Linked DNA regions of Homo sapiens: regions 2 and 3 are each linked to region 1. The links are contacts of gene promoters, found by promoter capture Hi-C in human tissues and cell types (Jung and others, 2019). All regions are on one chromosome and are shown on one strand. Each heading gives the region's core, a stretch centred on a gene start or on the middle of the fragment in contact. The rest is flanking DNA. Distances are from core to core; before and after follow the strand shown.

The links. The method cuts DNA at HindIII sites, captures the fragments that hold promoters and counts their contacts. A contact is called where the count stands out against the background at its distance.
Region 2: a contact is called between a fragment that was not itself captured here and the fragment with the promoter of RSPO2 in region 1, in 2 of the 25 tissues and cell types used here (dorsolateral prefrontal cortex and neural progenitor cells).
Region 3: a fragment that was not itself captured here is called in contact with the fragment with the promoter of RSPO2 in region 1 in 4 of the 25 tissues and cell types used here (IMR-90 fibroblasts, dorsolateral prefrontal cortex, mesenchymal stem cells and 1 more).

Annotation. Positions count from the first base shown.
Region 1 is chr8:108,081,444-108,085,218 of GRCh38, forward strand. RSPO2 (R-spondin 2) reads right to left here and starts at 2,177. Exons shown (of 6, transcript NM_178565.5): 1 at 1,754-2,177; 2 at 1,102-1,364. The coding sequence starts at 1,195. RefSeq lists silencers at 198-492, 1,033-1,208 and an enhancer at 370-1,316. The HindIII fragment of the contact is 6,606 bases long and covers 1-3,775 here.
Region 2 is chr8:107,926,184-107,929,958 of GRCh38, forward strand. All of the region lies in intron 5 of RSPO2 (R-spondin 2), which reads right to left. Among named protein-coding and RNA genes, the nearest start is that of RSPO2, 160 kb to the right of the region's middle. The HindIII fragment of the contact is 3,185 bases long and covers 154-3,338 here.
Region 3 is chr8:107,946,775-107,950,549 of GRCh38, forward strand. All of the region lies in intron 5 of RSPO2 (R-spondin 2), which reads right to left. Among named protein-coding and RNA genes, the nearest start is that of RSPO2, 130 kb to the right of the region's middle. The HindIII fragment of the contact is 5,256 bases long and covers 1-3,775 here.

The DNA.
Region 1 (3,775 bases), core at 927-3,426:
AATTGCGCAAAAGTCCAAAGTGCCGAATGAAATAGACAGCTCTCACCAGGTCCCTGGGAAGGGGCTGCTGCGCGCCCTTCCTGCGCGGGTAATTCGATGTGCGTGTGGTGAGTGGTTTATGTTTAAATCCACCCAGAAAATTGAATCGTGTCTAGCCGCCCTTCTTCTAAAATGCAGTTGGATTAGTTGCATCTCCAGCGGACTCCGAGACAGAAATACGCACTAAATCTGCAGGAAAGCGAGTTCCCCGAAACCTTTCTGGAGGCTTCCACCCGCCTTCTCCGCTACGCACAAGTGATGGAGAGGGAGGGAGCAGTTAAAAAGCCGCAAGTGAATTTCATTGAGAACAGAAGCCTCCACCGGTGTGGCTGCTTTTGCAAAGCAAATGGAGAGAGCGAAGTGGGGCCTGTTTTAAAAACAAACCTCTGGAGGCGAGGACTCCCCAGAAAACCAGCGCGGGAATTGCTGCTTAATTCAGAAAGTTCCCATCTCGTCGCAGTTTCCAGAAAAAAGAGATCTATGTTGGCCTTTTTCTGGAAAGGGAGGTCCTCCCCCTCGACTTGGTACCCCTCCCAAGCTCCGGAATACAGACACACGCTTGGGTACACCCACACACCACACACACACTATGCTAGGTCAAGTCCGAAGAGATCTGAGGCCGGGTTTGGGGCGCACGTGGATGGGGAAGATAAAACAAATGAGCTACAGGGAAGATGGTTAGGAGGACAGAGAGAAGAACAACGACGACAAAAAAAAAATGCATGTCAGATAAGAAATACGTCCTAAAGAGACAAGTTTAGATGAGGAGGTGGGGCGGCGAACATGAGTGCGGACCGCACGACTTAGCCCTGAGCGCCCGATTGGCGCCCGGCTCGCCGAGCTCCCAGCGCGTCTCGCTCCGGCTCCCCGCGCCTCCAGGGTACAGAAAACAGAGTGTTTTGTAGAGCTCCAGGGTCCTAAAGGTGGGGACTGGGGACCCGCAAAAGCTGGGGTGGAGAGCACAGCCCTGACCATCTGAGCCCCCGGAGCCAGGGCGTGAGTGAGCGCCTCCACACGCCACCCCTGAAGCCCACCACGCACCTTTGGCAGAGAGGGACCCACCTCGCTTACTGCGTCTCCATCGGTTGCCTTGGCAGTGGCTGTAATCCATGCAGTTCAGAATGATGAGGGCAAAGGAGAAAAGGCGAAACTGCATCTGGGCGGTCGGGCGGGGGAGAGACGCCTCTCAAAGTCTAGGAACTGGAGGGTTCGCCCAAAGAGCCGGCGCCGGCCGCGCTGCTGGGGAGGACTCAGAGGGAGACTCGCCACTCACCCCCGGGCCGCACCGGTCAGTTCAGCGCGATCAGCATCTCTCCGCCACGAACCTGAGAGACAAGAAGCGAAAACAGGGTGTGTGGGGGATGGAGAGAGCCCCGGGGAGGCAGCTGCGCCTTCGCACGTCCCAATTTAAAGAAGAGAGGGAAGGAGGAAGCGAACCCACTGCCTAGCACGAGCCGCGGAGCGGCTTAATCCAGAGCGGGCAGCTGCGGACGAGTTGGAGAGGAAGGTGATTATAATCAGTGAATTAGCAACCTCTGCCGAGCCCTAAGCTCCGACCCAGCGGCATAATGCGTTGTGCCGGCGCTCCGGGGAAAGGAAAGAACTCTAAAGGCACTGAGAGCGCAGGGCTAAAAGAACGCTCTTAGGCCATTTGGAGTCCACGGCGGTGTACCCAAGCGCCGCAGCTGCGGCTGCCTTGGTGTGGGTTGCCTACCGTGCGCACGTCTCGGGCGGCGCGGCCTCCCTAGGCGCGGTGCTCCATCCCGGGCTCGGGAAGCGAGCCGCTTGGTTAGCACGTGGGCTGGGGAAAAGTTTGCCGAGACCGGCTGGGAGCGCCTGGCAGCTCTGGAATTCCAGCGGCCGCCGCGGGGTTGGCGACGCCAGGCAGGAGCGCGGAGCGGCGGGTGCAGCCACTGGGATGCTCCGTCCCCGCCCGCGAGCGCGGTCCCCAGGCAAGGGGTGCGCCCGCTCACACTCTCTGCCTCCCTAACCAATTGTGTCGCTTCCTGCGCTTTCTCCACGGTCACTTCACAGCTAAGATTTCTTTCTTTCCGAGCTGTAGAAGGCAGAACGCTCTCGGGAGGACGAAGTGATCCGAAGGGATGTGGCAAGCGCACTTTCCGATGGAGATGCAGACCGGCTGAGGCTTGGGATGCTTCTATAAGTAGGTGGTGCTGTGGTCCAAGGCATCTAAGTCTAGGCTGCCTCGGAGTTCCTGGGTCCTAAAGCCAGAAACGTCCCGGTTTCCCTGAGGTCCTAAAGAACGTTGACAGCCAACAGCGCGCCTAACTTGGAGCGAATCCTCTTCGGGCTTTCCAGAGTGCGGGGGATAGATAAAGAGTAGCTGGGGAGACGCCCCCTGACCTTGCTGGGTCCCAGAACCCGGCTGCTCACCCCCAAGGGGTCCTCTCCAGCCCTCTAGGGTCAGTTCCAACCTCAGCGCCAACCTTTCTGCAGGGAGATCTGACTGAAGGACTGATGACTCCCTTTAAACTTTTGCAATATGCCACAACTCTGCCACTTTTTAATTTACATCTTGTCTGTGTTTTGCAGGAAGGTATGTTAGCCGGCTGAAATTATTCATAAAACGCGCCCCCACTTTGAGGAGTGAAATGGGTATTCCCAACAGCTTTTGTTCATCCTCAGAACTGTTATTTACTTTGTTTCTTCTCCAATAAAACAAAAACCTGTGATCCGTTGCCTGAAGTGCTGAAGAAGTTGGGGCCTTGATTCTTTAAAAATAATTTTAAAAAGTTCACTTCCCACTAAAGTATTTTTCATTCTTAATCCTCCTCTCATTTCCAAAGTCTCCTGAATTAAACTTTTAGGTGCTTTGGGTTTGGGGAAAATATTCTGTTTAACAAAGTGTTACATTAAATAGACTTGATGCCATCCAATTTCATTCTGGTGAAATCTGTCCTGCATTCACTACTGTAGGAAAAAATGTATTTATTCCTTAAGCAAAAGATAAGAATTTATGCCACTAACCGTGGCAGTATGAATGTCTATAGATATGCCCGCAGTTACCATATTATTATGATAGCATTTTATACTATTTAAATTCCCTTTTCTATTCCTTCAGTTTCAGAAGATGTTCAGAAATTTGATGACTTAAAAGACAATCATATAAAAAGAATATTGCAATACTCATATTTATTAACTATTCCATTATTGCCTATTCATAACTATTTTACAGACTCACTATTACATAGTGGTATTTATGTGCTAAGAATTTCAGCAGTATGCCTTTGATGCATGCCTGAGAACACCCAAGTAAATCTGAGTTGAGGTCATTGGTCCCATTTCATAGATAAGAAAATCCATCACTGAGACTGGCCCACAGGGCACAAATAGAGTTCACAAAACACATTGCAGAAACAGTGGATCTGTTTCTTGACTTTTGAGCCTTTGATTTTTATCACAGAATTTGGAAACATTTCAGTGTAGGGAGTGGCCCCAGTGTTTGGCATAACTTGATATTTCTTGATCATCTTGATATGATGCTGAATATCTCTTCAGCACCATAAATACTACTTCTTTCCAAATATAGTCATATATGCACACAACAAATGAATTATACTTATAAAGGAGTTAAATCTATGGGAGAAAGGAAGTCTTCCCTAAGTAAGCCCCCCTGCCTCCTTGCAAAGCTTTGAGATCCATTCAAGATCAGTGGTCATCAGTGTCTTTTAAAATATTTAAAGGCAAAAGTAAACACAAGACCAAGCAGAGGTAG
Region 2 (3,775 bases), core at 496-2,995, 160 kb before region 1:
TTGGCTGCATAAATGTCTTCTTTTGAGAAGTGTCTGTTCATATCATTCACCCACTTCTTGATGGGGTTGTTTTTTTCTTGTAAATTTGTTTGAGTTCTTTGTAGATTCTGGATATTAGCCCTTTGTCATATGAGTAGATTGCAAAAATTTTCTCCTATTCTGTAGGTTGCCTGTTCACTCTGATGGTAGTTTCTTTTGCTGTGCAGAAGCTCTTTAGTTTAATTAGATCCCATTTGTCAATTTTGGCTTTTGTTGCCATTGCTTTCGGTGTTTTAGACATGAAGTCCTTGCCCATGCCTATGTCCAGAATAGTATTGCCTAGGTTTTCTTCTAGGGTTTTTATGGTTTTAGGTCTAACGTTTAAGTCTTTAATCCATCTTAACTTTTATATAAGGTGTAAGAAGGGATCCAGTTTCAGCTTTCTATATATGGCTAGCCAGTTTTCCCATCACCATTTATTAAATAGGGAATCCTTTCCCCATTGCTTGTTTTTCTCAGGTTTGTCAAAGATCAGTTAGTTGTAGATACGTGGTATTAGTTCTGAGGGCTCTGTTCTGTTCCATTGGTCAATATCTCTATTTTGGTACCAGTACCATGCTGTTTTGGTTACTGTAGCCTTGTAGTATAGTTTGAAGTCAGGTAGCATGATGCCTCCAGCTTTGTTCTTTTGGCTTAGGATTGACTTAGCAATGCGAGCTCTTTTTTGGTTCCATATGAACTTTAAAGTAGTTTTTTCCAATTCTGTGAAGAAAGTCATTGGTAGCTTGATGGGGATGGCATTGAATCTATAAATTACCTTGGGCAGTATGGCCATTTTCACGATATTGATTCTTCCTATCCATGAGCATGGAATGTTCTTCCATTTGTTTGTGTCCTCTTTTATTTCATTGAGCAGTGGTTTATAGTTCTCCTTGAAGAGGTCCTTCACATCCCTTGTAAGTTGGATTCCTAGGTATTTTATTCTCTTTGAAGCAATTGTGAATGGGAGTTCACTCATGATTTTGCTCTGTGTTTGTCTGTTATTGGTGTATAAGAATGCTTGTGATTTTTGTACATTGATTTTGTATCCTGAGACTTTGCTGAAGTTGCTTATCAGCTTCAGGAGATTTTGGGCTGAGAAGATGGGGTTTTCTAGATATACAATCATGTCATCTGCAAACAGGGACAATTTGACTTCCTCTTTTCCTAATTGAATACCCTTTATTTCTTTCTCCTGCCTGATTGCCCTGGCCAGAACTTCCAACACTATGTTGGATAGGAGTGGTGAGAGAGGGCATCCCTGTCTTGTGCCAGTTTTCAAAGGGAATGCTTCCAGTTTTTGCCCATTCAGTATGATATTGGCTGTGGGTTTGTCATAAATAGCTCTTATTATTTTGAGATACGTCCCATCAATACCTAATTTATTGAGAGTTTTTAGCATGAAGGGCTACTGAATTTTGTCAAAGGCCTTTTCTGCATCTATTGAGATAATCATGTGGTTTTTGTCTTTGGTTCCGTTTATATGCTGGATTACATTTATTGGTTTGCATATGTTGAACCAGCCTTGCATCCCAGGGATGAATCCCACTTGATCATGGTGGATAAGCTTTTTGATGTACTGCTGGATTCGGTTTTCCAGTATTTTATTGAGGATTTTTGTATCGATGTTCATCAGAGGCCAGTGATCATTAATCCTATGTTCAAATACTCTGTATTACAGATGTGCAACTAAGGTTTATATAATGGAGAGCAACTCACATGTCCAATTCTGTTTTGTTTACACCAATGGTAACTAGCAAATTCTAAAATTCCTAACTAATCAGAAATATTAAATATAGACCAAAAAAATCACTGTGCAGGTAAAGACCTAGAGGGCTCATCTGCTCTATATATATGCCTTAAAATATGTATACCTGCATTTATCCTGGAAAAAGTATTTTAGAGACCCATGAGAATACTTAAGTATTCTTAATAACCTTAAGTGCTAAGGATCTCTTGATTATTTGAACTCTGAACCCCCTTCTGTCGTTACTTCAGTAGTTTCTGAGAGAGAAAAATAGCCACCAGGTTCCATATAATCTCTACATTCCTTAAACCTTATTAGATCATCCTTTACCCTTTTAAAAAATACATAGTTAACAGATGTACTGCTTAGCTGACAAAGTTTGAATAATTAGCTTTTTATATAAACACATACTGCCTATTCTTCTTTTGAAATGTCATTTTTATTTTAAACAAAAGACTAAAAATTTAATCTTGCCAAAGTATTCCAGATTACACTGTAAAGACTTCTCCAACACTGTGCTTCTAAGCCTAACCTTTTGATTCCCTTTAGTAAAGGCACTTAGATTACATAAAAGTAACAGAACTAGGAGAAATGCCATTCCAAATTTTGATGTATGGAATGTTTAAAAGTGGTGAGTTCCTAAAGTGGATGCTTTCCAACAATCATCTTAATTCAGGAGAGCAATATAACAGACAAGTTTAGAACATGCTCTTTGGAGACTGAGCCTTGGTTTCAGCCTCAGCTCTGCCACTGTAACTTATCCAAAGCTTCATAGCGGGTATCTTCTCTAGGGCTTCAGTTTCTCATCTGTGAAGTGTGAGAAATAGTAGTTCCTATGAGATAAAGTTGGCGTTATGATTAAATAAGGAAATTAAGTAAAAGTTTAGTCCGGTTCATGGCGTATTGTGAGCATCAGTACATGTTAGTGGTGGTGGTGATGGTAGTTGGTGGTGATAATAACAATGACAGTGACAGAGAATGTCAATGAGACCAGAAGATCAAGAATAGATTTTCTTAGCCTTCCTTAAACCAACCATATAAATCAATCTAACTCAGAGCCAAATCACAAGAAAGGCTGGACCGCATGCCCTGACACTGTTGCAAGGCCAATGCCACGGCTGCTGCCACAGCTCAGTCACACCATGGACTGTGAGTTGTCTGACTGGTAGTAGACGTCTCTCTTCCTACCTCTGATGGATGGTAATGGCTGCTTTGGATGGGATCCATTTTACATCCTCTGACTTAAACAGCTTTGCAAAAGTAATTTTTCATTGTTTTGAGAGGATAAGTAACACTACAGAAGTACTCATGTCCAACGAAGTGAGGATCATACAACAAAAGGAAAACACCCAAAGGAAAACAAATGTGTAGAGGAGATAAATTCACTTCAGGATGGATGTTTACCAAAAAGAAATTACATCCACAATTCTCGCAGTTGGGGACCAATGGCAAGTTACATGCCCCCTGTTTAGCAGCTGAAAGCCAGCCAGATCCTGTGGCTTGGCTCTCTCACAAGCTTTAAATACACGAACTCGCATAACAGCACCCAAGCAAGCAAATAATATGCACACTGCTCTTGGCTAAGAAGAGAGAGAGAGGGAGGACAGAGAACTTTTTCAATAACTACAAGCTTGGAGAGCTTATACAGATAAATGGGTTCAGTTTCTGCTGAGGAAGAAAACATTCAATTAAGACTTCAAAATTGCTGAAGGATACTTTAAAACACAGTGTCAGTGTCTGTCTCTCACCTTAGAACTATCTAGTATATATTATAGGAAACTTAGAACAGTTAGAGATTTTAGTTTTTCAGTAACTGCTTTTCTTCTATTTCTTCCACCTATCCAAATAGGTTTTCTACCATGAAGAAAAATGCAAAGCAATTCCGTCTGTATTTATTAACTCTAATTTTTAAAGAAGTAACAGTATAAGGCACAATGTCTGCCAGACTGGATTACCTCACCCCAATTCAGTTCTAGTATTCATAGAAAAAAATCTATGCATCTATTTGCC
Region 3 (3,775 bases), core at 326-2,825, 140 kb before region 1:
TAACTTGTCATTCAACCCGTAAGTAGTCAAGACCGGCCATATACCAAATTTAAAACCCCATTTAAATTTCCCGATTCTGTTTTTTCCAACATACAAAGACATCCACCATCACTGAAGGTAAAAAATAAAAGCTAGATGATTATTTGTCAAAGATGTCCAAGTGTGTGCTGTAGGTAAGGTTGGAGAGAAGGCAGCAGGAAGAGCTGTAAGCAGAACCGGTCAAGGGATTAGAATTCAGAGGAATGAATACAAAATACATTGCTTCTCACTTCATGCCACAAACTGCAAACTGATTAGCTACATGGTTTTCTCCTGAACACAGCATTTAACTCAGAATCCTTTTCAACCCAATGTTCCAGGACACTGCTTTTGCTAGTCAGCGGCATGTTAGATAAAACCATGTTAGATTATACAATTGAAATTGAACTTTGTAGGAACATTTTCATCCTTGACCTGAATATTTGATTTGTGTACTTTAAATTTTCAGAGTACTCCAAGCTGGCTAGTACAGGAAACTCATTATAAGGTTAACATGGCAAGCTAGAAAATAGGAAATACTACATCCAAGGATCTTGGTAAATGGCAGATGAAAGTAGTAGTTAGAAACAAATATAGTTCACTTAGGGTGAAAGCAAATTGTGCCTAGATTTCAAAAAAAGAAAAAGAAAAAACTGTACAAATACAAACTAGAGAATGGCCTGGCTTAGAAAGTTGGCAAAAAGAGATACAGGGGCCACAGTGGACCACAAGCCAAGGCAAAATCCTCCACTCTTTAGAAAAGCAAACAACAGGAAAACACGTAAACATCAGAACCCGTAAGTATTCTCTGCTAATTCTCTCATCAGACTCAGACTCTGTTTAATGCTCTGCCCTAAATCAGGGATGTACAGTTGATCCTCTTCCTAACACTTTAGCAACACCATTTCAGTCACTTCCATCTTCAGTCAGCTTTCTACTGAAACACCTTCACACTCAAATGTCTCATAGCTCTCCACAGTACACAAGGTAAAATTCAAACTCCTTGTCTTCTCCATGGACACACTTCAGTCAGGCTGCAACTTATATTTTTTTCTGTGAGCTTCTGTGACTGCCATTCACAAATTCTGCGTTTCGGCCAGGTTCATTTGCTTCACCTCCCTTGGGTGCATGAGGCACATTCTGGTGTATCTTTCCTCACAGTGTTCTGTCTAAAATGATCTCCCTTTTTAAACATGGTTTCTACCCACTCCTCCTAATATAAGTTATCCTCTTCAGGAACTATTCCTATTCCCTGGCAATGGCAGCTAAAAACAATACCTTTTGTTCTATAGTATCAGAGCCTGTAACAATGTCATCTTTACCTGACACTCAATAATTTAAAAATTAAGCTTTGCCTTTTATCTTTAATGTGCATTTTCTTATTCCGTAACCTGGCTATAAACTCTCTTGTTTGTATCACTCTCTCCTCCCAATCTTCCCATTTCTTTAGAACATAGGAAGTAATGGATGCTTAATTGATTCAATGGACCTAAAGACACGGCAATAGAAAAATGACAGATTGCTTAAATCCCAGCTCCAACACTGGATTATCTTGGGGAAGTAGGTTGAAAGAGAAATTGGAAGGCATCCTGTAACATATTTTTTAAAAGTCAATGCAATTCGGTAAACATTTACTCAAAATCTCCTTGGTTCTCTCATAACAAATAGCTTTGACACAGATTAAGATAATCAAAGGCCAGCCTTGGAGAGGAAACAACAAAAAATTGCAAAAGGTTATCTAAAAATATGAGTGCAGGCCTTGAGATAATCACCAGAAATAACTCTGCACCTAAATATGCAACTCCTGACCTTATTTAAGAATATCTTAAGGCCGAGGCAGGCAGATCACAAGGTCAGGAGATCAAGACCATCCTGGCTAACACGGTGAAACCCTATCTCTACTGAAAATACAAAAAAATTAGCTGGGCGTGGTGGCGGGTGCCTGTGGTCCCAGCTACTCAGGAGGCTGAGGCAGGAGAATGGCATGAACCTGGGAGGCAGAGCTTGCAGTGAGCCAATATCACACCACTGTGCTCTAGCCTGGGCAACAGAGCAAGACTCCATCTCAAAAAAAAAATAAATAAATAAATAAATAAAAATCTATTTAGAAAATACATATTTATTGACAAGTTTGAAGAGTAACTGCCCCCTGCAATATAATAGGTCTGCACCTTTTTTTTTTTTTTTGGTTCAAATTTTATTGCATATTAGAAACACCTGGGGAGGTTTTTCCCCCTAATAGTTTTTGGGGAACAGGTGGTTTTTGGTTACATGAAATAAGTTATTTAGTGGTGATTTCTGAGATTTTGGGGCACCTGTCACCCAAGAAGTGTACACTGTACTCAATGTGTAGTCTTTTATCCCTCACCCCCTTCCCCCCAAGTCCCCAAAGTTCATTATTTCATTTGTATGCCTTTGTGTCCCCAGAGCTTAGCTCCTACTTATAAGTGAGAACACACAATATCTGGTTTTTTGTTTCTGAGTTACTTCACTTGGAATAATGGTCTCTAACTCCACCCAGGTTGCTGCAAATGCCATTATTTCATTCCTTTTTTGTGGCGGAGTGGTATTCCATGGTGTATATCCACATTTTCTTTATCCACTCTTTGATGGGTATCTAGGTTGGTTCCATATTTTTACAATTTCGAATTGTACTGCTATAAACGTAGATCTACATATTTCCTGCATTCACTAGATACCATGAAGTTCCAAAGGCATTCAATATTCACCAAAATAGCCTACTGGGTGATTACAGCAAAAAACAACTGATAAGTCAAAACATTTTGATTCCATGGAACTGGAGGCCATTATCCTAAGTGAAATATCTCAGAAACAGAAAACTCTTATGTTCTCACTTGTAAGTAGGAGAGAAATAAGAGGTAGACATGGACTTAGAGTATGGAATAATAGAAACTGGAGACTCAGAATTTGGGAAGTTGAGAGGAGGCTAAGGAATAGGAAATTACTTAATGAATACAATGTACATTATTTGGGCGATGGTTACACTAAAAGCCTAACCTTCACCATTATGCAATACACCAACCAACCTGCACTTGTACCCTTTAAATTTATATGATTTTTTTAAAGTCCTGAATCAGTATTACTCATGCCACTATTGAGTCAAGTTCATAGTCACACCTTCAGCCTTCATCCAAGGATAAACGCCAAGCTGCTTTCTACCTTTTGGAAGCATGTATGTGACATGGGTGGTGTGACGACATCGTCCACCATGTGATTCCCCACTTGAGAAGTCTAATACTGCAGAAATGTGTTTAGCTTTTGCCTCCCTACTGAGCTTTTTTCTGTGAGAATTTCCTCAATTCCATAAGTCCTACTACCTCCCTGAACACATGCACACTTTAATGTGTCTGAAATTGGAATAAGTATTTGTATATATGTGCATGTGTGTACATGTACCATACATGTGTGTTTATTGTGTATAAACAGATACATACATATGTGATTTTCCCCTCTAAAAGCTGCTATTAAATTGATATTTTAAAATCAAGCACTTATTTTAAATCAACCTAGAACCATGTCTACTTTTTCCCTTTGCCTGGTAGCAAACCTAAAGTCAAATTTTTGGCTCAATTACTTCAACCAACACAGATCTAAATAGCTTATTTTTTCTTTTATTCGGGCCTGAGCTCTTATTCTAATTTAAATTATTCCTAGTTTTAATAGGTTACATTTTGGGGTGTTTTTTTTTTACCATGTTATCTTATGTCTTTGTACATTAAGTTCTTACTAAATCCTT